Linked DNA regions of Homo sapiens: all the other regions are linked to region 1. Evidence: promoter capture Hi-C in 16 types of primary human blood cells and fetal thymus (Javierre and others, 2016). All regions are on one chromosome and are shown on one strand. The core of a region is centred on a gene start or on the middle of the fragment in contact, and the rest is flanking DNA. Distances in the headings are between cores, read along the strand shown. Region 1 holds the start of NAPB (NSF attachment protein beta). Region 2 holds the start of GINS1 (GINS complex subunit 1). Region 3 has its middle 17 kb from the start of BETALINC1. Region 4 overlaps LINC01727 (long intergenic non-protein coding RNA 1727). Region 5 overlaps ENTPD6 (ectonucleoside triphosphate diphosphohydrolase 6). Region 6 overlaps LOC101926889 (a long non-coding RNA gene). Region 7 has its middle 7.8 kb from the start of VSX1.

Region 1 (3,182 bases), core at 397-2,896:
AATTAAGGTTTGAAGGTTTTCTCCCACTTTGGTGTGGACTGGCAGAACGGTGGGAGTGCCCACAAATTTCCTGTGACAAAGAAGAGAATGAAGGAAATTACTAGAAACCACCAAAAATGTCTCTCTTAATTGCAAGTGCTAGCTTCGGGGAGGCAGTCTGTTCCAGCTCCTTTTCAACTGACTACAGATATGAGAATCTAGAACTGTGTGCTTTAGGATAGGGATGGAGAGTTCTTTTCAAAATGTGCATTTTCTAGACCCCAGCTGCAAGAGACCTTGATACCAAAACCCAGTGGCCTAGGAATCAGTATTTCTTAAATATCCATTAGAGCTTCTGCATCGAACCACGTTAGGGAACAACTGATTTAATCAACACACTGATTTACTTAGGAGCTTTTGACTTAGCCTCACTCCATTAAGCCCCCATAGACTGCTCTGCTTTCCAAATGCTTATGTTCACTTTTTACAGTTTTTCTCTGGTCTCCCCTGCATTTACGGTCACCTCCAATTTCCCGCCTCCTTCTCTCTCCAAAAACACACAGCTCAGCTTTTCAAAGTTAGAATAATGCATGTAGTAATCGTAAATAAACTGCACGAAGAGCTGAGATTTCTTTCTATCTCTACGGAGTCCTGAAATGTATGAACTCTGTGACATGTGCTTTAGTCAACTTTCTTTCTAGGAGTTTGGCCCCTCTTGCCTTGCCCTCTACAGACAGTCTTCATTTTCTAAAATTTTGCATGCCAGTGCCCAGAGTGTATTTATTAACAGTTTGAAACTGTCATAAATCTCACTTGGCAGTGATTTTCTTATTAGTTTCAGCATCTCTGCCTTAGCACTGCCAAGCTTGAATGGTCTAGACATTGTCTTCAAAAATAACTCCCTCTGGGACAGGCCTGAAAGTCTCTGGCACAGGATCCCATCTATCTATGGATACTTCTCCTAGGAGATTAGAAGTCTTCCTGGCAGGCAAACATTTTGTCCCTGGAGATCCATCCACTATGGCCAGTATTATGTAAAGGATAAGAGTTCAATGGTTCACATCCATTGAATATAATTCAGTCAACAAAAGAGTGGATTATGCATATATTGCATATATGCAACTCATTTATAACCAAGGAAGAGAGGACCAACAGAAAGTTACAGTTTGGGGAGATTTAAAAATAACTGAACTTATATTGGGGACGTCTTGCTCTTGGAGATAAAAATGGCTCTTATTGCCAGCTGTTGCTCGTTTTTTGGTGGGCGGTATCAAGCATGTGATGCTTTGGTGGCTACACCAGATTCTCTTTTGCAGAACTTGCATGAAGGGTGTGGGTTCCATCCAATCTGTTATCCCCTGTTCCTTCATCCATCCCATTGCCATGCGAGTCTTACTGAGGAGGTGATCTTTACTAGAGGCCACGGATCATTTTTCCATTTCTGCATACATACAAAATTAAAGTTCACCTTGGCCCAGGACCCCTTTGGGGGGGTCACGCCCCCTGCGCCGACGTCCTGGGAGCTAGCGGTGCGCAAGCTCGGCTCACACACACCCCGCCCCGGGGCCTCCTGGGAACTGTAGTAGGCGGCTCGCGAATCCCCGCCGCCATGACAGGACCCGGACTACAGCTCCCGAAAGGCCTCGCGCGTCGCGCCTGCGCCTGCGTCCCTGCGGCCGCCAGAGGGAGGGTTAAGGCGCCTGGGCGCACAGCGAGCCGGCTGAGGGGGCTGTGGCGGCCGCGGCGGGCGACATGGACAACGCGGGGAAGGAGCGTGAGGCAGTACAGCTGATGGCGGAGGCCGAGAAGCGAGTCAAGGCCTCCCACTCCTTCCTCCGAGGGCTGTTTGGGTGAGCGCCAGACCGTGCGTGCCCTGGGGGGGGGGGGTCTCCGTACTTGGCCCCCTTCCTTTCAGGCTGACCCCCCGAGTCCCCCACGCAACCTCTGGGGCCCTCAGACCACGTCTAGGGGCCCTCAGCCTGCAGGCGCCCTCCAGAAATCCTGTAGGGTCCCCCAGCGCCCCCTGGAGCCCCCAGGACGCCCAGGGGCCCTCAGTCCGCACGCGCCCTCCAGAGACCCCACAGGCCCCCCCAGGGTCCCTGGAAACCCCGCATCCTCCCAGGGGCTCTCAGCCCCCACGCGCACTTTAGAGACCCCCTAGGGCCGGCAGAACTCCCCAGGGTTCCTCAGCCCCCACACGCTCTCCGGATCCCCTAACACGCCCCCTTAGAATCCCCAGAGTCTCACAGGGACCCTCAGCCCCCACGCGCCTTTCAGAGAACCCCTAGGACCCCCAGAGCTCCCCAAGCGCCCCACGAAGCCCCTAGAACACTCTGGGGGGGGGGCTGTCAGCCTCACGCGCCCTCTGGAGACCCCAGATCGCCCCCCTCGCCCTGGCCCGGGTTGGTGCGGGGGTCCCACGACCTAGAAGGTCAGCGGCTCCCTGAGGCCCGCGGGCGCGGTAGCTCGGGGCGCGCGTGGGGCCCCCTTCTCAGTGCGTAGCGAGTCGTATTGGTGCATTTCGCCACGCTGAAGCCCGTATCGCTCCTGAGACCGGTCCGGGTGAGGCGCGCCGGGGTGGAGCCGGAGGGGTGGGTGCGGGGGCCGCCCCCGGCGCCTGGAACGCGCACCTGGGGGCGTCCCGCCTGCAGGTGGGCCCCGCCGGGGAGGGGGCGGTCCGGCGAGGGATCCAGAGCTGGTGTGCTTGTTGGCCTCTCTCCAGGGGCCTTGCGCCGAGTACACCTTTAGTAAATACTTGACTAATGAACGAATATATTTTCTCAGCATAGTATTTTTCCTTCTCCGGAGATTGATTGATAGCCAGAGCCTCCTGTTTGATTAACGGTAACGCTGCTGCTGTTTAAGTCAGGCGTCCTTTGGGAATCCCTTTAATTTCCTGTAATTCTTCCGTGCTCTCCTAAGGAGGATTTTAAATTCCAACCTCTCAAAAAGCAGAGCCCGCACTGACAGCCCGGAAGAATTCTGGGCTGTTGAATATGTGAATGATTCAGCTGTTTAGGATGAGAAAGGCAGAAATTTTGTGTGTGCCTGTTTCGTTGTTTTCTTTTGAAAGTGAAAGATCCTTTGCTGTTACCAAGAGCAGATACTTAACCCATTGCATGACTAGACACGATTTTATTTCTGTACACATTCAGTTCAGACTCTATTTCAGAAGACAGACATAATGGGCTCTTAGCTTGTTT
Region 2 (3,182 bases), core at 410-2,909, 2.0 Mb before region 1:
TCTCCCTGTCCCATTCTTTCCTCTCTTCAATCCATTCCCCATATTGCTGCCGCAGTTACCTTCAAAACACAAAAATTACCCTATCACTTCCTTGTCTAAAATCCTCTACCAGCTCCCAGCATGCCTTATAAGTGAACAACAAATTCATGTAGGCTGTGAGCCACCTTCCTAGACTCCCCACAGGCCCTATTGGTCACCCTCTCCAGTGTGACCACGTGACTTTGTGCTGCAGCATCCTTTGGCTGGGATGCCTCGCTTCCTTCTCAGATCAGTAACCTCATCCTTGAGGATGGAAAGGCTCATATATCACCTCTTCTACCCCAGCTCATACTGGTGTTTCTCCTTCGTGCTCCTTGCTATACCTCCTTAGTATCACTTAGCGTGGTGAATTCTATTATCTGTTTTTGTGCCCATCTTCCAGCAGAATGTGTCCTGACATCCACATAATGCCTGCTCTATGACGTAAGTGAAATATACAATTTAGAGTGCAGGCTCTGGAGCCAGAGTGCCAGGGTTCAAATCCTAGCTTTCTTGCTGTGTCACCTTAGGCAATATACTTAAATCTCCCCAATCCTATGCATATATAGCTGAAAAAAGTAGAAAACAATAGTTTAAACATCAAAAAGTTATTTTTGTTTTGTTTGGGACAGGGTCTCCCTGTCACTCAGGCTGGAATGCAGTGGCAGGATCAAGCGATCCTCCCGCCTCAGCCTCCCAAAGTGCTGGGATTACAGGCAGGAGCCATGGTACCGGGCCCTCAAAGGGTTATTAGAAAGACAAAAGATAATGTACATGAAGTGCTTAGCACTCTCCCTGGGGTAGCAGTGATAGAAAAATACAAATAATCATAATATTAATAGTAACAGCAGCAGCAGGAGAAAAGTAATATTAATAGCTAACACTGACTCAGCCCTTACTGTATGTGAGGCATATGCAGAGACCCTTACACATGCCACTCATTTTGCGTCCACTACATCATGCGTTGGGTACTATTATTGTCACCATCCCCATTTTTGCGTATGAGAAAACTGAGAGCACAGAAAGCTTGAGTAACTGCCCCAAAGTCACACTACAGAACCAGAATCTCAGCCAGGTTCCAGAGGCCTAGCTTTTACTGACCACGATTAGATGCCTGAGTGAGCAAGAAATGCTAAATTATCAGGCAACCTGTAAATATTTTAAGGGACCGGAACAAATCTGTCCAAGGAAAACTGCTAAAATGCAAAATTTGCTCAGATGAGGAAATTCACCAAATCGCTGGGTAGCGTAAGCATGAATGCTTTCTCTTTCCTCCTGAATTTTGTTTTGCTGCTTCCCAAGTTTTCCGGAGCTCGGAGGGAACAAGGTGCGAAAGTGAACCCTGACGGGGAGCCGCCCCGCCCCAGAGCCCAGGGCCCAACGCCGGCATGCCCCGTCCAAGTCTACCCGCCCCTCACGTTGAAGGCAGGCAGTTGCCCTTCGGGCGCGCGATGCAGCTCGCGGATCAGTTCCATGGCTTTTTCGCAGAACATGGCGGACGCTTCCCACTCCCGCGGCCTTGCCAACCACCAGCTCTCACGCCAAAATGGTATCTGGGCTCTCGGCGCCTCACTCCTTTCGTTCTAGTCCTACAGCGCCAGGCTCTCGCCTCGGCCTCCGCTCCGCGCTTTGGCGCCGAACAAAGCTAGCCAATAGGAACGCGCCTACGGCGCCCGAAAAGGGACATCCACCGCTCAGCCGCATTCCAAGAGGGGCGGAGTGGGAGGGGTCTTTCCAAGGTGAGGTCCCCGCCCCGGAGATGGCAGAACCCCTCGGCTGAGCAGAGACGGCTTTTCCAGTTCTCAGGCAGTGGGCCGGGGGACTCTACGGGCAGCAGAGCTGGAAATAAATGCACGCCCCGCAGCTTCCTTGTCATTTTCCTTTTGATTCATTCATTCTCGTTTAGGTTCAAGAAAAGAGCACTTTGAGGTTAAGAGGAAAGGCCCAAAAACTTGGTGTGCATTGGTAGGACGCAAGGGTTTCAGTTTTGCAGTGCGGGTTTTCTGTTTGATATTAAAATGAAACTCTCTTTTATTGGGTACCTAGTGCTGGTAGGGACTGCAGTGTGTATTTCATTCCCACAATTATCTCTGAAGTGTTTTAAGACCCGGGATTAATAAGGAAACAGAAGTTAGGTAACTTGCCCAAGGTCACACAGCTCCAGAGTGATTAGACTGTTATTTAGGCTTTCCATTTCCAACACCACAGTACCACCCTTTGATTTTAAAATAGTCTTTTAAAAATATTTGTAATATCTGCCCTAGATTAATACGAATTCACTAGGAATTTTCTTGGCTAGATGGTTATGGAATATTTCTTAAGCATATGGAAGATGGGAATCACTGCTAAAGAATTGTTTTATTAGGCAATTTTTCAAAAAGCAATGTTAATTTCTAACAAGCAATCTTGGATTTTTTTTTTTTTGAGATGGAGTCTCGCTCTGTCGCCCAGGCTGGAGTGCAGTGGCGCGAACTCGGCTCACTGTAAGCTCCGCCTCCCGGGTTCACGCCATTCTCCTGCCTCAGCCTCCCGAGTAGCTGGGACTACAGGCGCCCGCCACCACGCCCAGCTAATTTTTTGAATTTTTTAAGTATAGACGGGGTTTCACCGTGTTAGCCAGGACGGTCTCAATTTCCTGACCTCGTGATCCGCCCACCTCGGCCTCCCAAAGTGCTGGGATTACAGGCATGAGCCACCGCAACCGGCGCAATCTTGGATTAATTCTAGCTAACCCTAGAAACTATGTTGATCTTTTGCAAATATACAGTAGATATGTCATCTAAGGAATGGGCATGGGAATGGCCTACTCAGGCTTATGTTGAATAATGACATTGCCTTTTTTTTTTGGAGACAGGGTCTTAACTCCCGTTACCCAGGTGGAGTGCAGTGGCGCCATCTCAGCTCACTGCAGCCTCCACTTCCCGGGCTGAGGTAATTTTCCCCCCTCAGCCCTCTGAGTAGCTGGGACTACAGGCTCAGGCCACCACACCTGGCTATTTTGTATTTTAAGTAGAGACAGGGTTTCACCATGTTGGCCAGTCTGGTCGACAACTCTTGAGCTCAAGGGATCCGTCCGCCTGGGCCTCCCAAAGTGCTGGAATTACAGCGTGAGCCACCGCACCCAGCAAACATTGCCTTTTTGAAACCGCCTTTGAAAAAATTAT
Region 3 (3,182 bases), core at 399-2,898, 1.9 Mb after region 1:
CAGTGAGCAGAGATCACACCACTGCACTCCAGCCTGGGTGACAAAGTGAGAATCTGTCTAAAAAAAAAAAAAAGAAGGTTTTAATGACTAACTTCAGTAGCCTTGTTACCTGCCTGAGCAAGCCCACTCCAAAAATACCCTCTTGTCCCCCAGCCACTTTGCAGCTAGCAGTGGTCATAGGGTAGGGTTCTGGTTTGGGCCAGCGAGATGTCTGCTGGGAGAGGCTTCCAGAAAAGCTTTGCATTCCAGATGAACACACAGACTCAGCTGGTACATTTGTTTGCCATTTAGTGTGCTCCACCCTTCTCCCCCTTCTCCCTACCTGGAAAAGAATTGTGAGGCCTCCAGGGACAGGGGACGGTAGCCATTTAGCCACCACAAGGCAACATGAATCATTCATATTCCAAAGCCCTAGGGATGTAGAATTGAAACAGAAGTGTCCTCTACCCAACCTCGACTACCTACTCAAGACTTCCTGTTATGCAGAAGGAAAAAAGTCCCTGTTAATATCTTCCGTAGCAGTCAGGTGTTTTGTGGTTTGCAGCCGACTTCACCACTAACAGAGATACCAACACGCTTAAGTTATGCGACCAATAGACACAGAAGATGAAAGTCGTTGCAAGAAATTTCCATTGTCTTGATCTTGAACTGACTTCATCAAGAATATTACCTATCTCTTCAGCTGTGAAACTTCTGACCAATGGAAGAGGATTTGCAGATTCTCAGGGCAAAACCAGATGAAATGGTTGGCAACTGTAAGGTTTTTATTTTATTGCAGGTGGCATTTAAGGCCCTCAGCTGAGTGGGTGCCTACGCGGCAACGTAGTTAAAACAAATGGCATAAAGCAGGTCTTCTGGTCACTGTGGAGTGGCTTACTAACTCAACTGCTCCAACCAACAGGCTGCATTTGGGCTTTTCTAAGACAGGAACCCTATCTTCTCCAGATATTATTTACTTTCCTTTACTTTCCTCCTTTTTTTTTTTTTTTTTTTTTTTTTGAGACGGAGTCTCACTCTGTCGCCAGGCTGGAGTGCAGTGGCGTGATCTCGGCTCACTGCACCCTCCACCTCCCGGGTTCAAGCGATTCTCCTGCCTCAGCCTCCATAGTAGCTGGGACTGTAGGTGTGTGCCACCACACCCAGCTAATTTTTGTATTTTTAGTAGAGACAGGGTTTCTCCATGTTGGCCAGGATGGTCTGGATCTCTTGACCTTATGATCCACCCACCTCGGCCTCCCAAAGTGCTTAGATTACAGGCGTGAGCCACTGCTCCCGGTCTTACTTTCTTCTTTCAAAGGGTCTCCTGATTCTGTTCTCACTGGGAAGCAAGGCTTCCAGAACTAAAGGCACAGAAGTAGACCATGGCTGGGAACCGTACTCTGGGATAAGACCTCTGAATGAATGCACTACTTTTTTTTTTTTTTTTTTTTTTTTGCCCTTGATCAAGTTTTTTTTCATTTTTAAATTTTTAACTGTGCTTAAAAAAAACATAAAAATTTACCATTTTAACCATTTTTAAGTGTACGGTTTGTAGGGTTAAGTATATCTACATTATTGTGCAGATCTCCAGAGGTCTTTCATCTTGCAAAGCTGAAACTTTGTGCCCCCTGAACAACAGCTCCCCATTCTCCCTCCCCAGCCCCTGGCAACCATCATTCTACCTTCTGTTTTTATGAATTCGTCATTCTAGGTAGCTCGTATAAGCAGAGTCATACAGTATTTGTCTTTTAGTAACTGATGTATTTCACTTAGCATAATGTCCTCAAGGTTCATCTATGTTGCAGCATGCGACAGAATTTCGTTTCTTCTTTAGGCTGAATCATATTTCATTGTACGTGTCTATATACCACACTTCTTTATCCATTCATCTGTTGGTAAACATTTGGGTTTGCTTCCTTGATCATGTTTTTATTTCTTTTATCTCCCAATCATCAATCCCTCCTGAAAATATCATTTAGAGTGCCTTCACTTGGATAAAAACTATTGGTTTCCATCTATTATTTCTACTTGAGCGTAATCATTCAAAAGGGAAAAGCCTAGGTGTTTGAATGTTCAGGATTATATTGTAGCCATCACAGGCCAAAAATAGGATGTATATAGAGGTAAGAATACCATGAATAGCAGCTATGAACATTCTAAAGAAATTATCCACAGACCACCAAAAAATTAATCCAACATTTCAAGATGGTATTTGAGACAATCCCTAGACTATTCTCTGCCCTGTTCTGTGAGGTTAAATGCATGCTTTACAATAAATGGAAGGTTTTTAAAAACATAGCTGTAATGTCCTGCAGCTCCCCCCATCAAAAAGTTAATTCTATTTCCCCATCCCTCAAGTCAGCTGGCTTTGAGCCACAGAACGTGACATGGTCCAGAGCTTAGGCTGCAAGGGAACTTACAACCTTCACCTTTGCCCCTTGGAACACCCTTTGATGATGTTGAAAGCTACTCTGTAAGGAAGTGGGTGAAATCTCCTGGAGGGCAAGGGCCACGTGGAGAGCCTACCCCAACTGACAGTTCCAAGTGCCAGCACTGAGTGAGGCCATGTAAACCTTCCAGTCCCACCCGCTTCAAGCTAAATACAACCGCAGAGGAAAGCCCTGGAGAAGCCAACAAAGGAAACACCCAGCCAATCCACACCACCACAAGAAGTAATAAACCTCTGCTGTTTTAAGTCACTATGTTTTGGGGGTGGATTCTTATGCAGCAACAGTTGACTGATACTCTGTGTAGGCACTAAGTTATCTCAGGGCCCATATTCCATTCTTAAGTTGTTTGTTTGTTTTGCTGAGTAAACAACAATTTAAAAAAAAAGGACAAATAGGAAAAAAAAACCTTTAATTCTACCAAGAACTATTAACTGATGTTAATGTTTTATTATTAATATCCTTTCTTCTGTACATAATTTATTTTTACTTTCATTGAGATATAAGCCACCCAAAAAAACTGTTTGTTTTTTTAGAAACTAACATGTGCTTGAGGCAATTTGTTCAATCAACTAATATTTACTGAGCATAATTTTAAAAAATCAGAATTAAGTTGTCCCAGTTACAAGCTTTGGAATCTGACAACCTGGATCCATTGAATCACTGCACTTACCGGAACCTGAACAACTTATCTGGCTGAGTCTCAGTTTCCTTATCTGTAAAAGGGGGGATAATATTACCTGACTTGCAGAATTG
Region 4 (3,182 bases), core at 276-2,775, 1.8 Mb after region 1:
AAAACTCCAGGGCCCCTCATCAGTGTTTGAAAAGATATTTGGCTGCACTTATACTTTAACATGTCCCATAACGTGCCCTGAGATACCATTTTTCACTTATCCAGTTGGCAAATAACATAACGCTCAGTGACTCCGGTGCTGGTAGAGGTGAAGCAGAACACACAAGGGTACAAACTGGCAAGGCTTCCACAGACGGCAACTTGCAGTTCTTTTTAAAAAACCCTCTGAGACAGGAATTCCACTACCAGGACTGTATCCTACATGTGTCCCCACACATGCACATAATGACAGTTGTACAAGGCTACTCATTGTGGCACTGTTGTCATAGCAAAGATTGGAACCAACCAAGATGTCCTTCAGGTGCGGACTGCTTAAATAAATAACACCTCATCCACATAATGGAATGCCAGGCAGAGAGAATGAAGAAATCTGTTTCTTCCTAATGACATAATCTCCCATTATTTAATGAAGAAAAGGGGCAGGCTATGTATGTCAGGTACAATTATTGGTGGTTTTTGAAGGGAAAATGAGAAAGAGAAAGAAACTTTTTTTTTTCTTTTTGCTTATGCATGTACTATCTGTGGAAGGATACAGAAGACGCTGATTACTTTAGTTGGCTCTGCTGGGGAGAACGGAGCGGCTGGAAGACAGAAGAATAAGGAAGATGAGATCTAACACCTTTCTGTTGTTGTCGAATTTTGAACCAGATAGAAGTTTTATCTATTTTCTAAATAAATACAAAAACAAAAACCCCAGGCCCTGAATACAGCTTTAGGTGAAAACGGTGTTCCCAATTCCCACTCCTCACCCATACCCAGCCTCCTATCTCCCTCTCAGCCACGCCATCCCACACTTCCCACTCCTCATCCATATCCAGCCTCCTATCTCCCTCTCAGCCACGCCATCCCACACTTCCCACTCCTCATCCATACCCAGCCTCCTATCTCCCTCTCAGCCACGCCATCCCACTCCTGTCCAGCCTTTTCCTTCCATTCCAATTTTATAAAACTTCCCTTCACCTCACTCCTTTGGCGGGATGATTTTTAACACTTCACAGTTTTACAAGCTTTTGCATTTCAGATTTGAGTCTCTGACTTAAATGAAAAGCTGGAAGTGTTTCTTATAGAAAAACTCACATATATGTACAAAGTATTCTTGCAATGGAAGAAAAATGAAAGGCATCTAAATGTCCATCTGTAGGGGAGAAAAATCAAACAAATCAGATTATTTCCACACTGCACAACAGCATGCAGCGGTAAAACAGTCAGATCACTTTGTGTTTAAAAACCTCAGGCCGGGTGTGTGGCTCACACCTGTAATTCAAGCACTTTGGGAGGCCAAGACAGGAGGATTGCTTGAACCCAGTAGTTCAAGACTAGCCTGAGCATCGCAGGGAGATCCTGTCTCTACAAAAAATTAGCCAGGCATGGCAACTTGCACCTGTAGTCCTAGCTACTTCGGAGGCTCAGGTGGGGGGATCCCTTGAGCCCAGGAGTTCGGGGCTGCAGTGAACTGTGCCATTGCACTCCAGCCTGGGCAACAGAGCAAGACCCTGTCTCAAAAATAAATAAATAAAAATAAAAATAAACCTTATACAATATATTTTCAGACTTTATATAGTACATAAAAATATATTATCAATATAAGCATAAACTTTATATAAACATATTGTATAAAGCATAGAATTAAATGTATTATATTTTTATATATTTATATAAAGTTTTAAAATATTTTTACATTTGTAAATATAAAATATATACACATATATGCCATACAAAATATATTTTATGCTTATTTATAAGTCATACACTTCATATGTGCACATGTAATGTATATTTCTACATGTCTACATCTCTGTGTAACATATAGAAACGAATATATAATATACATATATATCATTTGTAAATGCATAGGAAAGGAATGTAAATGTTCTCTAGGGGTGTAGTAAGATCGGGATGATAAAAGGAAATGCAGGAAAGCTTGAGATTGTTACTGTATGAACCTGCATGGGCTTGTGTGATGTTTTTAAACAATAAAAATTATTAACCATCTTTTGGTGCCTGGCATGACAAGTATCTGCCACTAGAGGGCACTGGAGATCGCTAAATATTTCCCAGGATTATCTTTGAGGGAGGGGGCGCGGGTGCAGGGGATTTGAAGGAAGCCCCTTTACCTCTTTATAAGGGTCCCTTTTTCACGCTGGGGGACTGGGCCCTGAACCTGAACTTTCAGTGAGGGTAAAGCTTGGCTGGAAGCCCGCAACCCTTCTCTCTCCACTCCCTCAAATAGGCCCCTGCAGCCATTTGGGGTGGGAGTCCTTTATCCAGCCCACCCCATTTTGCCCACCAGTTTCGCCCACCAGCCCTGGTCTGCGGGACGCTGCTCCGGTGTGGAAGGTGGAACTGGCATCGAGTGCATTTCAGTGAGCTCACCTTCACTCCTTATTCCACATGGGTGTTCAACGGGGAGCCCTGAGACATTGGAAGGGGCCGTTTGTGATTGCTCAATTATAGTGGAGACATCTTCGCATTTGGGGGAGGAAGAGGGAAGCTAGAATTTCTGAAATGCTCAAAATTCAGCCTGAAATGCATGTCGGTGAACAACCAGTTGCTAATTACCTACCCTAGGCCCTAACTCTCTGACACGTAATCATAGAGCATTATCGCCTGGTTTAGTATGAGCGGAATATGCAGGAACCCAGAGTCAGTCAACGTGTGTTGTTGTGCCTAGAAATTTACTGAGCGTTTTTCACCAGTATGGAAAACCACGGCACCATGACGCCAAGCCGGTAGTGTCTGAGTCACTGGTCCTGTGCTCCAGGCTTGGCCTGGCTCTGGGGTTGTCGGGATCACATTCTTACAAGACAAACACCTGGATACTTTATTACGTCTTCTAGAGAGCTTGTGCCCAAGCATTTACCTATCGAATATGTGTGTGTGTGTGTGTGTGTGTGTGTGTGTGTGTGTTTACCAAAAGTTACCTTTTTCAACTTCTCTTTTGTTTCTCCTTTATATTACAGAAAGAACTTTTTGTAATGATGCATGTAAGTAGATTATACAATCTGTGAATTTCATTTCAAGATAGGACAGGAAGCGTTACAAAATATTCGTGGTCTCCAAAGTGATTCTGACACCTCATGATGACTAAGACCTTTGGTTGCCGTTGCCTCAAATAATTTCCTC
Region 5 (3,182 bases), core at 382-2,881, 1.8 Mb before region 1:
GATCACGAGGTCAGGAGTTCGAGACCATCCTGGCGAATATGGTGAAACCCCATCTCTACTAAAAATACAAAAAAACTAGCTGGGCGTGGTGGCGGGCGCCTGTAGTCCCAGCTACTCGGGAGGCTGAGGCAGGAGAATGGCATGAACCCGGGGGGCGGAGCTTGCAGTGAGCGGAGATTGCACCACTGCACTCCAGCCTGGGCGACAGAGCGAGACTCCATCTCAAAAAAAAAAAATTAAATAAAAATAAATAAAAAAGAAAAAAAAAGTAGCCAGGTGTGGTGATGGGCATCTGTAGTCCCAGCTACTCAGGAGGCTGAGGCAGGAGAATCGCTTGAACCCAGGAGGCGGAGGTTGCAGTGAGCCAAGATCGCACCACTGTACTCCAGCCTGGGCAGCAGAGCGAGACTCCGTCTCAAAAAAAATAAAAATAAAATAAAAAATAAAAATCCAACTTTACTGAAGATAATTTACACACAAAACAACTGCATCAGTGTTAAATTTTAACATAGTTAATTCTTGCCAATTCAATAAACAGCGGAATAGGATAAGTGACTCCAAACTGAAAATAGGAACACCATTTCCTTGATTCTGAAATGAATTTATTAAAGGGTTCTCAAGATTAGGGTATTTTCTTCATTTTAAAAAATGGAGTGTTTTAAATTATTAGGAGTGGTATGAACTTGTGCTTACAATAAGGAGGCATACTAAATTCAGACGCGAAGACTGGACCAGAAAAAATCAGGGACAAAACTTTTTGCAAAGTCTTTTCTCTCCAAAGAGAAAACCCTGGGACATGGCTCCAAAAGCATCGCAGGCTGATGTCTGTTGCACACTTAGCTTTGAAGAAGCTTTACTTTTTAATTATTAATTTTTAAAAAGTTCCACTTAAAAAAAAATTTTTTGAGATCAAGTTTCACTCTTGTTGCCCAGGCTGCAGTGCAATGGTGTGATCTTGGCTCACTGCAAACTCCGCCTACCAGGTTCAAGCGATTCTCCTGCCTTAGCCTCCCACATAGCTGGGATTACAGGCTTCGAAGCCACTTTTAGAGATAAGCAGATATGGCATCTAAATATTTCACTACTGTAATAAGTTAAAAAATAACGCAGATGGAGTCAAAAGTAAATAAAATACACCACTCAGCTTTGGAGACAGCAGCTAGAAATGTCCAGCACCAGCAGAACCGTGCAATGCCAGGATGGTGTCTACCCCACAGGTTCCAGGTCAGCCAAGAAGAGCATGGGACACCCAGGGGACCTGCCTGACAGGGGCTGCAAACTCTCACTGGCTACAGCTAGAGAGACATGGAGGGCGAACCTCAGGGTCACGGGCACGAGAGGGGCATCAGGGAACCAAGGGAAGAGGGTGGTTGGAGAGCAGAGGAACCGGGTGGCGAGGGGGACCCCTCAAGAGAAGCCGCCCACCCCGGCCTGAGGCCCACCCTAGAAGCATAGCCAACGAAGCCCAGGCTCCAGCTCCCTTATCCAGCTGAGACCCCTCTCGGCTGTTGCCCCTGGCCATCTTGGCCCACCTGGCAGCTCCCGGTCAAGCCCAGGAGCCTTTATTATTTATCTGACTTTCCTGATTTTCTGGCTCCCATGGGACTGAATCTGGGGATACTTCCTGCCTGAACTCCCCACAAAGCCCCAAACACAACCACTGGCCTAAATCATGGTCCTAGCCACCTGACCTGCTGGTGAATGTGGGGAGGGGACAGGCCACCAAACACCTCAAGGTCTCAGCTGCCCTTCAGCATGGTCACCACTCACTAGTGTAAGAGTGATCTGGGACTCCCGGGAAATTCAGATGCTTGGACCCCAGCCCATACCAGCGTCAGCATCTCTGGGAAACTGCATTTAGACAAGCTCCCAGGTGAGTCTGTGGCAGGGGACCCGGCCAACACTGTAGCACAGGGGAGGAGATCCCGAGAGCCCTGCCATGAGAGGCGGGTACCTCTGGGGGGCCGGGTGAACTGGAAGACGTGTACTCGGGTGCCAGTGCTTCCTGCATCAAACATGATCCCGTAGAAGACCTCGTGCCCGTCTGCAGCTGTCCCCAGGGGGCTGTGGGCCTGCTGACCCCACCGGGCCCCCGGGGCTGCCCTGGTGATGCTGAAGAAGGCCTGGGTGGCGGTGGCCCGGTGCCACTTGATGTAGGCAACATAGATGAACACGCCCACACACAGCCCCAGGGGGTATGCCACCTTCGCCACCCGCAGGCTCCCGTGGTTGGATATTTTTCTCATCCTTGTTTGCCAAGGACCGTGCTGCGGCTGCTGGTGGGAAGGGGGGAGAGGCAGGAAAAGCACGTTAGGGTGCTAGGATCCAAGGAGAGTCAGACGTCCCCAGGCCCAGGGACAAAATGTTCAACCTGAAACTGCTCCGTGTTCCCCCCAGGAATCAGAAGCTTCATTTGAGCCTCATAATTATTCCAGAAGGTGTGATCCCCATCCTACAGAAGAGGAACTGAGGTTTATAAAGGCAGGACAGCCTGCTCAAGGTCGCACACATTGCAGCTGCTGACCTGGTGCACAGACCACAGTGGCTGGCTCCTCTAAGGGAGGGTCCCACCAGCTTGGGACACATGGCGATTTATGTAAAAGAAGCCACATGTAAATGGTGTTCCCAAACTGTTCATGGGAACAGAAGCGCGTATCTGATTCAGTCTTTCAATCCTCAGTTATACTTCTATTCAGGCAATTTACTTTTCGAAAGGTTTAAACTCCGTCCCTTGGGCAACTACTGAGAGCCCCAGACAAACCTGAAAAATGTAGCTCGTTTTTCTGGAAGTTTCATAACGGATACCTTTTTTCATTCACATAGCCCATTCCTGCCAAGGAGAAAATAATGTCTGTGTACTTCCAAAGCCTACAAAAATTCTACTAGAGTAGCAAAATAAATTCACTGGGTGCCATTGTTTTTGGTTCGATATACCCAAAATGAAAGCATTTGTTCAAGTTTCATTGGCTGCTCCAGTGCGAGGCAGCATGTGGGAACCTGAGGCTTCAAAGGACAAGAAGTGTGGGCCGACTCTAGGGCCCCCAACCTTGGGGAACGTCCATCAGCCTGTCCCTCCCTCACTCTCTCAGTCGGTCCTGGTGAGTGGCCACTCCTAGGGGAGCAGGGATCAGGAGGATGCCGGGCTGGAAGTGGCACCGGCTCTGCCCGCAGCTACGTGTGAC
Region 6 (3,182 bases), core at 502-3,001, 1.8 Mb before region 1:
TGAACAGATTGTCCCATTTAGAGTAGCTGTTAATGGACTGTCTTCTCTCCATGAGGGCCTTTAGCATTTTACATTGTATAGGTTGTCGTCTACCAGATTAAGAAAATGTTCTTCTATTTCTAGTTTAAGAGTTTTAAAAAATCATTAATGAATGTTCAGTTTTATTTTGTGCATTTCCTTCATCTATACATGATATTATTATTTTTCTCCACTAATTTTCTTTTTTGTTTGAGATGGAGTTTCGCTCTGTCACCCAGGCTGGAGTGCAGTGGCATGATCTTGGCTCACTGCAACCTCCACCTCCCTGGTTCAAGCAATTCCCCTGCCTCAGCCTCCCAAGTAGCTGGGATTACAGGCACACGCTGGCATGCCCAGCTAATTCTTTTGTATTTTTAGTAGAGACGGGGTTTCACCATGTTGGCCAGACTGGTCTCGAACTCCTGACCTCAGGCAATCCACCTGCCTCAACCTTCCAAAGTGCTGGGATTACAGGCGTGAGCCACCGCGCCGGCCCACTAATTTGTTAATATGATAAGTTCTAACGTTGAATCATTCCCGCATTCCCAAATAAGCATACTTTTAAAATACATTGCTGGATTTGACTTGCTAACATTGTGTTTAGGTTCTTTGCTCCTACATTCACAAAAAGATTGGCTTCTAATGTTCTTTCTAATATAGTACTTGTTTAGAAACTATCAAGATTAAATTAGCCTTACAGAATGAGTTGGAGATTTTCTGCCTTTAAATCTTCTAAATGGGTTTAAGTTTTGAAGTTTCTATTTCTTGAATATTTGATGGAATATTTCTGTTTTCTGTGTGAAATATTTTAAACTGCTGATTCTATTTCTAATCAAGCTTTCTACTTCTTTCGCAGGCAGTTTTGGCATCTTTCTAAAGGAATCATCACATTTCACCTAAGTTTTCAGTGTTACTGGTATAACATTATTCACATCTTCTTAGCATTTGCAGCGATAGCCTCCATTTCACTCATAATAATTAATTTGTAAATTTTCCTTTTTTTCTTGGTCAGCATCTCCAGAAATGCCTAAGTTTTATTACTTCTCTTCCCCAAGAGCTAACTTTTGGCTTTGTGGAACTCCTCTGTATCTTTGTTTAATATTTTTAAATTTATTTCATCTTTATTATTTCTTTCTTTGTACTTAGAGTGTGTTGTTTTTTAAAATTTTCTAGTTTAAGCTGAACACATATTAATTTTTAGCCTATCTTCTTTTTTTAAATTAAAGACTAAAACTTTATTATTCTTATTTAAAATAAATGAAGCAAAAGAAGTTACAAGAGAACTTATGTCTAACCAAGAGGCAGGTGGGTGAGTGGGAAGGGAGGCTGTTCTCTGCTCACTGCAATGCTGCACATCATGGTGGAGAGTAGGTCATGCTGTGAGAAACAAACTCACTGGTCCAAACCCAAAGTTTGGGCTCAGAGACCCAGAGAACAGTGGAAGCGAGACTTTAATGACAATCTTGCAAGATCGGGTGTCTGATGGGCAGGCACACCCAGTACAGTTTCAAAAGCAATTTATCCCCTAGTGTGCAGGTCCCTCCCTTGGTTCCTCATAGGCTGAGTACTATGGGGTCACAGTCTTCCTGGACATTGCCTATTGGTTGTTGGGTAGGGGTTTTAGGCATTTTCTTTAGGATTGTTCTGCTGCATTTTGTTGCAGCCATAATACATTGCAATCCTAGTTAGCTCAAGGGCTCTTCAAGTACTTGACTTATGACCTAAGTATCTGGGCAGGCTGATAAGAACAGACAAAGTGAGCTATTTTGCAAGCTAGTAAACTTTCATCTTAGACTAAACTCCTTTGGTTTGGGTGAGGGCAACTAAGGCAGTGGGGTAGGGTGGAGGGTGGGGAGGCGACAAGCAGGCATTGGCTATCCAAGCAGGGGCCTAGTGTATCCTGTTTCTTCTGTAGTTTGCTGACCTAAACCAATTCAAGGCACTTTGTCTTGGAAATGGACCACTGTATATATTATTTCCTTCATGCTCAGTACAGATAGCTCTCTCAGGGTTATTGTTAACATTCAAGGGGTGATAAAACAAATGCTTCCTGCAGCCAATTCCATTATCTAAGAATCCAAGTCAAATTTTGTTTTGTTTTGTTGAGAAAGGGCATTGCAAAGGTTCAAAAAAATGAAGTCCAAATAGCACTGTATCATCAAGCATTTGCCTTTTTAAAGAATGTATGTATATTTTACAGCCCAGCACCTCACGCTCAGGAAGGGTGTTTCTGAAGACTGATAAAGCCCCTTCAGTGAATGGCGCCAGGGCACAGCTGTCCACGACAAAGTGAGGGTTAGTAACTGCAGCGAGGAAGCCACATCAGAGGCCTCCTGCCTTCAGCATGGGATAGACAGGATTGCGGAGAAGGGAGGAGTTCAGGTGAAGTTTAAAATGAAGCCGTTTCTGACAGGCTGAAAGCAGGGCTGTGGGTCACAGGGTGACACATCACACTGGGCTGAGAGGCTGACTTGGGGGCCCGAGCTCAAGACAAATGCACCATGTTGTATCTGGAAGCCCCTTATCTGAGGCTGTGAGCCAAGGTGAGAGCTCCAGGCTGCTTCTCTGTGTGGAGTGGCCTGCATGGCTGAGCATCTGCAGGCGACAGGATTCCAGACAGCAAGCTTTCTCAGGGCGGAGAAGTGGAGTACGAGATTTCTCAGCACAGAGGCTGAGGGAGCTGCCTCAGGCTGGCTATCTTTGTTCCTTAGCCCTGCTCTCCTATTACCTGGGGCCTGCCCCTCCTCCCACCTATCTCCTGGCTCCCAGTCTCCCAGGCTCCAGAATGCTTGGGCCAAGGTAGCTAGGTAACCAGAAGACACTCACCCTTGGTGCACTGGAAACAGTAACACCAGAGTGTCCTCCACATGACCCCAGAACTATGACAAGGTCCCCCTCAAAAACCATCCCTACTAGGGAGCCCCAAGCCAGGCTGCCCAGTGGGAGCTATGTGCTGCTGTCTTACTCGAAGTCAACTTTCAGCCTATCTTATAAGAAATGCAGTTAGAGCTTTGCATTTCCTATAAGCACCCTTGTAGCTCTGTCCCACACATTTGGCTGTATTGTATTTTTGTAATTGTCAGTTTGGAACATTTTCTAAAGTCCACTATTACAGTGTTTCTCTGTCCATGTGTTATTTAGAAATATTTTTGCTCTCTCCATTC
Region 7 (3,182 bases), core at 403-2,902, 1.7 Mb before region 1:
GGGGAGAGGACTCCAGATCTAATGTGGAGTGAATGGGGAAGAGCTAAGTTTCTCCCAGGAGACCCCGTCAGGCAACAGGCATATGGTTCAGACTCCTCCATCTTATGGCCTGTTCCCCCGCTGCAGACCTTCACTAAGCACTGGCTCTGCACCAGGAGTGTGCGGGGCCCTGGCATGCAGGGGCCCCAGGCCAGCCCCAGCCCTGCTCTGGAGCTTATGGTCAGTCTAGGCTTGGGTTCTGCACAGCAGACTCTGAGACAGGGATTTGAGTGAAGTAAGTAATGTGGGAGGAACCCAGGAAGTTCTAGTAGGGGAGGGGCAGGGACACAGAGAAGCTGTGACAGCAAGTGGCATTTCCCAAGGCTCAATCACACCAGGACCTCGGGTGACTATGCAAGGTGATTTCTCTTCGGGATTTTCCTACCACAGGATCATTGCACCCCTTGGCCAGGTATCATCCATCAACCCCTGTCATCTGTCAAGAGTGGCTGCTGGAGGCATCACCCTCTGCCCCCCAGGACTTCAGTCCTAGCTGGTGCACTCCTGGCTTTGGGGCATCCTCCGCTCGAGTGGCAGGTGCTGCAGGCAGGAAGCTGTGGTGTGTGTGTGAACTGTCTACAGAGGCTGCAGGCGACCCGGAGGGCAGCCTGCCAGCACTGTCAGCTACAGCATCCGGCAAGGCAGATGGGTAAAGCAGTAAACCAGCAGGTGAGTGAACGGTTGCAATTGTGGCGGATGCCTTGGAGGGAGCTGACTGGGAGTTGAGCACAGAGGGAGGAGCAAAGACCTCCTTCAAATAGGGTCATGGCCGGTGCCTGCCTCCTTGGAGTAAGTAGGTCCCCAGCAAGCAGAGGCAGGAACCCGCAGTCACGCCACCCTGGCAGAGTTGTTCTGACCTTTGCCTAGAGCCTCGGTGCTACCTGTGAGCTGGGATAGTGATCACATTCACTTCTAATATGAGCTGGTTAAAAGCACATTATCATTGGCCAGGTTTCTCAATTGCCAAGAGATGACCTAGTGCTTGTTTAATACCAGAAATGAAGCTCAGCAGCAGCTCTTGGGCTGTCCTTCAGCGGCCCCTCACATGCCCAGGTGTGACCTTCTGGTTAGGGTGGCCTATGTCACCTCCCTCTCACCTTCTTGATGTCCACACAGTGCACCTGCTTTTGTCTGCCATGGGGGAGAGGAGGAGAGGCAGATCCTTCTGTGCCCTCTGCTCATGACCTTTTCTGCAGTGGGGTCCGAGGGTGGGCTTAGCTCAGGGACTGGATGGTGTGTCCTCTCCTAAGCTTAACTTGGCTCTGGGTTCCTTTGTCTTACAGATGGAACTTAACCAGAAGAAGCTAAGGAAGAGAAGAGAGGAGAGGAGAGAGACAGTGAAGAGGCTGGAAAAGGAGGAAGAGAAGTATGTTCTTTGGAATCAAAGTGTTACCTGGATTCCTACCCAGGATTTTCCTATTGTCTCAGGACCTAAAGGGAAAAGACCGGCCATGGGGCATGTGAGCCTCTGGGAAATCTGCCTCAAGCCCATAATGCCATCCGTCTACAGCAGTTGGAACAGTGTAAGAGTCAGACCTCGCCAGATCCCAAGCGCTGCAACATGAAGAACAAAACCAAGGTTAAGCCACAGACCAGGCCCCGTGGAGATTTCGCTGCTTCTAGCCTGACCGTCAGGATTTGGGTCCTGACCGCTCCCCTGGCTGTTGGGCTGGTCCCAGCTCTGGGCCTCCGTTTTCTCACCCACAGAATGGGGACGATACAGGACCTCCCTCATCAGAGCTGTCACAAGTGGTAAGTGAATGGGTTCGTGAGAAGCTCTGCAGTGCCTGGCGCAGACCAAGGGCCCCACCGATGGTGGCTGTGAGTTTTCCCACTAATGTATTTTTTGATATGTAACATTTTAAAATAAAATTTTCTCTTTTCTTTTTTCCTTCTCCTTTTAGAACCTCAATTTCCTGATTCCCTAAGCTCATGTCTGGTGCTGACTATTATCTTAGTGCTGAACTCAAGCTTTCCTCATAGCTCCTCAGAGCATTTGAGAATAACTGGGTGTTTCTGCACCCACAACATATTTGTAAAACCAGTCAGGATATATGGTTCATGAAGCATTAATAGAAGATGTGGTTCTCAAACTTGAGTGGGGCTCAGGGTCCTCTGGGGGGCTTGTGAACACACAGATCATGGGTCTCCCCAAGGTCTCTGATGTTGGAGGTCTGGATGGGGTCCAAGAGTTTGTTTTTCTGGCCAATGCCCAGGTGGCCAGAACCACTTTTGGGAACCACACTTTGAGAACCACTGGCACATAGTAAGGAGGCCTCTTCCAGAGGCCACCAGGGAAGTCACTGTCCTGGAAGGTAAAGAACATTTGTCCAGGGGATGTGTTAATGAAAAGACTCAGTTCTGGGCTCCTGGAGCCAGGTAGGAGATGAGAACAGACACAAAAGAACTTAAGAATAAGAAAATAAGACCAAAGGAGCATCAAGTGCTTCAAGAGTGCAGCAGTGATTTTGTTCCAGCTGGGGCAGGAAAACCTGGGGAGGCTCTGCGGTGAGGAACCATTTGGGCTGGGCGTTGATGGGTGGCTGAGCACTGCTTGGCGCCTGGCCCTGCAAGTGCGATGTGGTGGGTCCTGTGTCCCACCTTGAATCTGTGTCCTGTCCTTGAATCTGGTGGCTTGTGGCTGCTTAAACCAGTCAGCAGGGCCAGTGCACACTAATGCCTTGGGTACAATGCCCAGGGCCTATGCTTCTAATGCCATTGAATATATTTTAAAATCAGAAGGAAAAATGAGTACAATAATAAAGAATATACAATAATGAATCTAGACTGGATTATATTCACCTTTATGCCAACATAGGCACAAAATACAACTTTAAATATTTTTATGGAAGAAGGGGCCCATGAAAGCAGAAGTGCCACTCCCCCAAAACTCATGCTATGGCCTCGCTGACTGAACGTGATGGAAGTAATGCTCTGACTTCTGTGGAAGGGCCAGCAAAGGCTGTGCAGCATCTGCCTGGTTCTTGTGGGATGCTCCCAACTCCCCGAGAGCCCACAAGGCCAATCAGCCTGGGCCATGTGAGCGGGCTGCCTTGAGCACCCAGCACAGCCCCGTTGAGCCCTCAGATGACTGCCACCCCAGACAGCAACCACAGGAGGGCTCTAAGTGATAATGGCCTGCT

The links. The method cuts DNA at HindIII sites, captures the fragments that hold promoters and counts their contacts. A CHiCAGO score of 5 or more calls a contact.
Region 2: the fragment with the promoter of GINS1 here is called in contact with the fragment with the promoter of NAPB in region 1 in 1 of 17 cell types (total B cells); the score reaches 8.2 in total B cells.
Region 3: a fragment that was not itself captured here is called in contact with the fragment with the promoter of NAPB in region 1 in 2 of 17 cell types (activated CD4 T cells and non-activated CD4 T cells); the score reaches 5.7 in activated CD4 T cells.
Region 4: a contact is called between a fragment that was not itself captured here and the fragment with the promoter of NAPB in region 1, in 1 of 17 cell types (activated CD4 T cells). The highest score is 5.2, in activated CD4 T cells.
Region 5: a fragment that was not itself captured here is called in contact with the fragment with the promoter of NAPB in region 1 in 1 of 17 cell types (non-activated CD4 T cells); the score reaches 5.1 in non-activated CD4 T cells.
Region 6: a fragment that was not itself captured here is called in contact with the fragment with the promoter of NAPB in region 1 in 2 of 17 cell types (naive B cells and total B cells); the score reaches 6.6 in naive B cells.
Region 7: a contact is called between a fragment that was not itself captured here and the fragment with the promoter of NAPB in region 1, in 8 of 17 cell types (total CD8 T cells, total CD4 T cells, non-activated CD4 T cells and 5 more). The highest score is 14.5, in total CD8 T cells.

What each region holds. Positions count from the first base shown.
Region 1 is chr20:23,419,952-23,423,133 of GRCh38, reverse strand. NAPB (NSF attachment protein beta) reads left to right here and starts at 1,646. Exons shown (of 11, transcript NM_022080.3): 1 at 1,646-1,829. The coding sequence starts at 1,732. RefSeq lists an enhancer at 1,268-1,457 and silencers at 1,708-1,797, 2,428-2,657. The HindIII fragment of the contact is 2,788 bases long and covers 847-3,182 here.
Region 2 is chr20:25,406,150-25,409,331 of GRCh38, reverse strand. GINS1 (GINS complex subunit 1) reads right to left here and starts at 1,659. Exons shown (of 7, transcript NM_021067.5): 1 at 1,437-1,659. The coding sequence starts at 1,511. It overlaps LOC105372581 (a long non-coding RNA gene), which reads left to right and starts at 1,037. Exons shown (of 3, transcript XR_937403.3): 1 at 1,037-1,261. RefSeq lists enhancers at 513-1,270, 1,368-1,617. The HindIII fragment of the contact is 9,972 bases long and covers 1,047-3,182 here.
Region 3 is chr20:21,545,876-21,549,057 of GRCh38, reverse strand. No RefSeq gene overlaps it. Among named protein-coding and RNA genes, the nearest start is that of BETALINC1, 17 kb to the right of the region's middle. The HindIII fragment of the contact is 2,819 bases long and covers 239-3,057 here.
Region 4 is chr20:21,571,187-21,574,368 of GRCh38, reverse strand. The region is part of intron 1 of LINC01727 (long intergenic non-protein coding RNA 1727); the gene reads right to left. Among named protein-coding and RNA genes, the nearest start is that of LINC01727, 2.8 kb to the right of the region's middle. RefSeq lists an enhancer at 1-117. The HindIII fragment of the contact is 913 bases long and covers 1,069-1,981 here.
Region 5 is chr20:25,206,170-25,209,351 of GRCh38, reverse strand. It overlaps ENTPD6 (ectonucleoside triphosphate diphosphohydrolase 6), which reads right to left. Exons shown (of 15, transcript NM_001247.5): 2 at 2,762-2,830; 3 at 1,955-2,276. The coding sequence starts at 2,815. Among named protein-coding and RNA genes, the nearest start is that of ENTPD6, 12 kb to the right of the region's middle. The HindIII fragment of the contact is 1,556 bases long and covers 854-2,409 here.
Region 6 is chr20:25,186,984-25,190,165 of GRCh38, reverse strand. LOC101926889 (a long non-coding RNA gene) reads left to right here. Exons shown (of 6, transcript NR_109994.1): 3 at 2,219-2,313. Among named protein-coding and RNA genes, the nearest start is that of ENTPD6, 7.1 kb to the left of the region's middle. The HindIII fragment of the contact is 1,787 bases long and covers 858-2,644 here.
Region 7 is chr20:25,088,369-25,091,550 of GRCh38, reverse strand. No RefSeq gene overlaps it. Among named protein-coding and RNA genes, the nearest start is that of VSX1, 7.8 kb to the right of the region's middle. The HindIII fragment of the contact is 721 bases long and covers 1,292-2,012 here.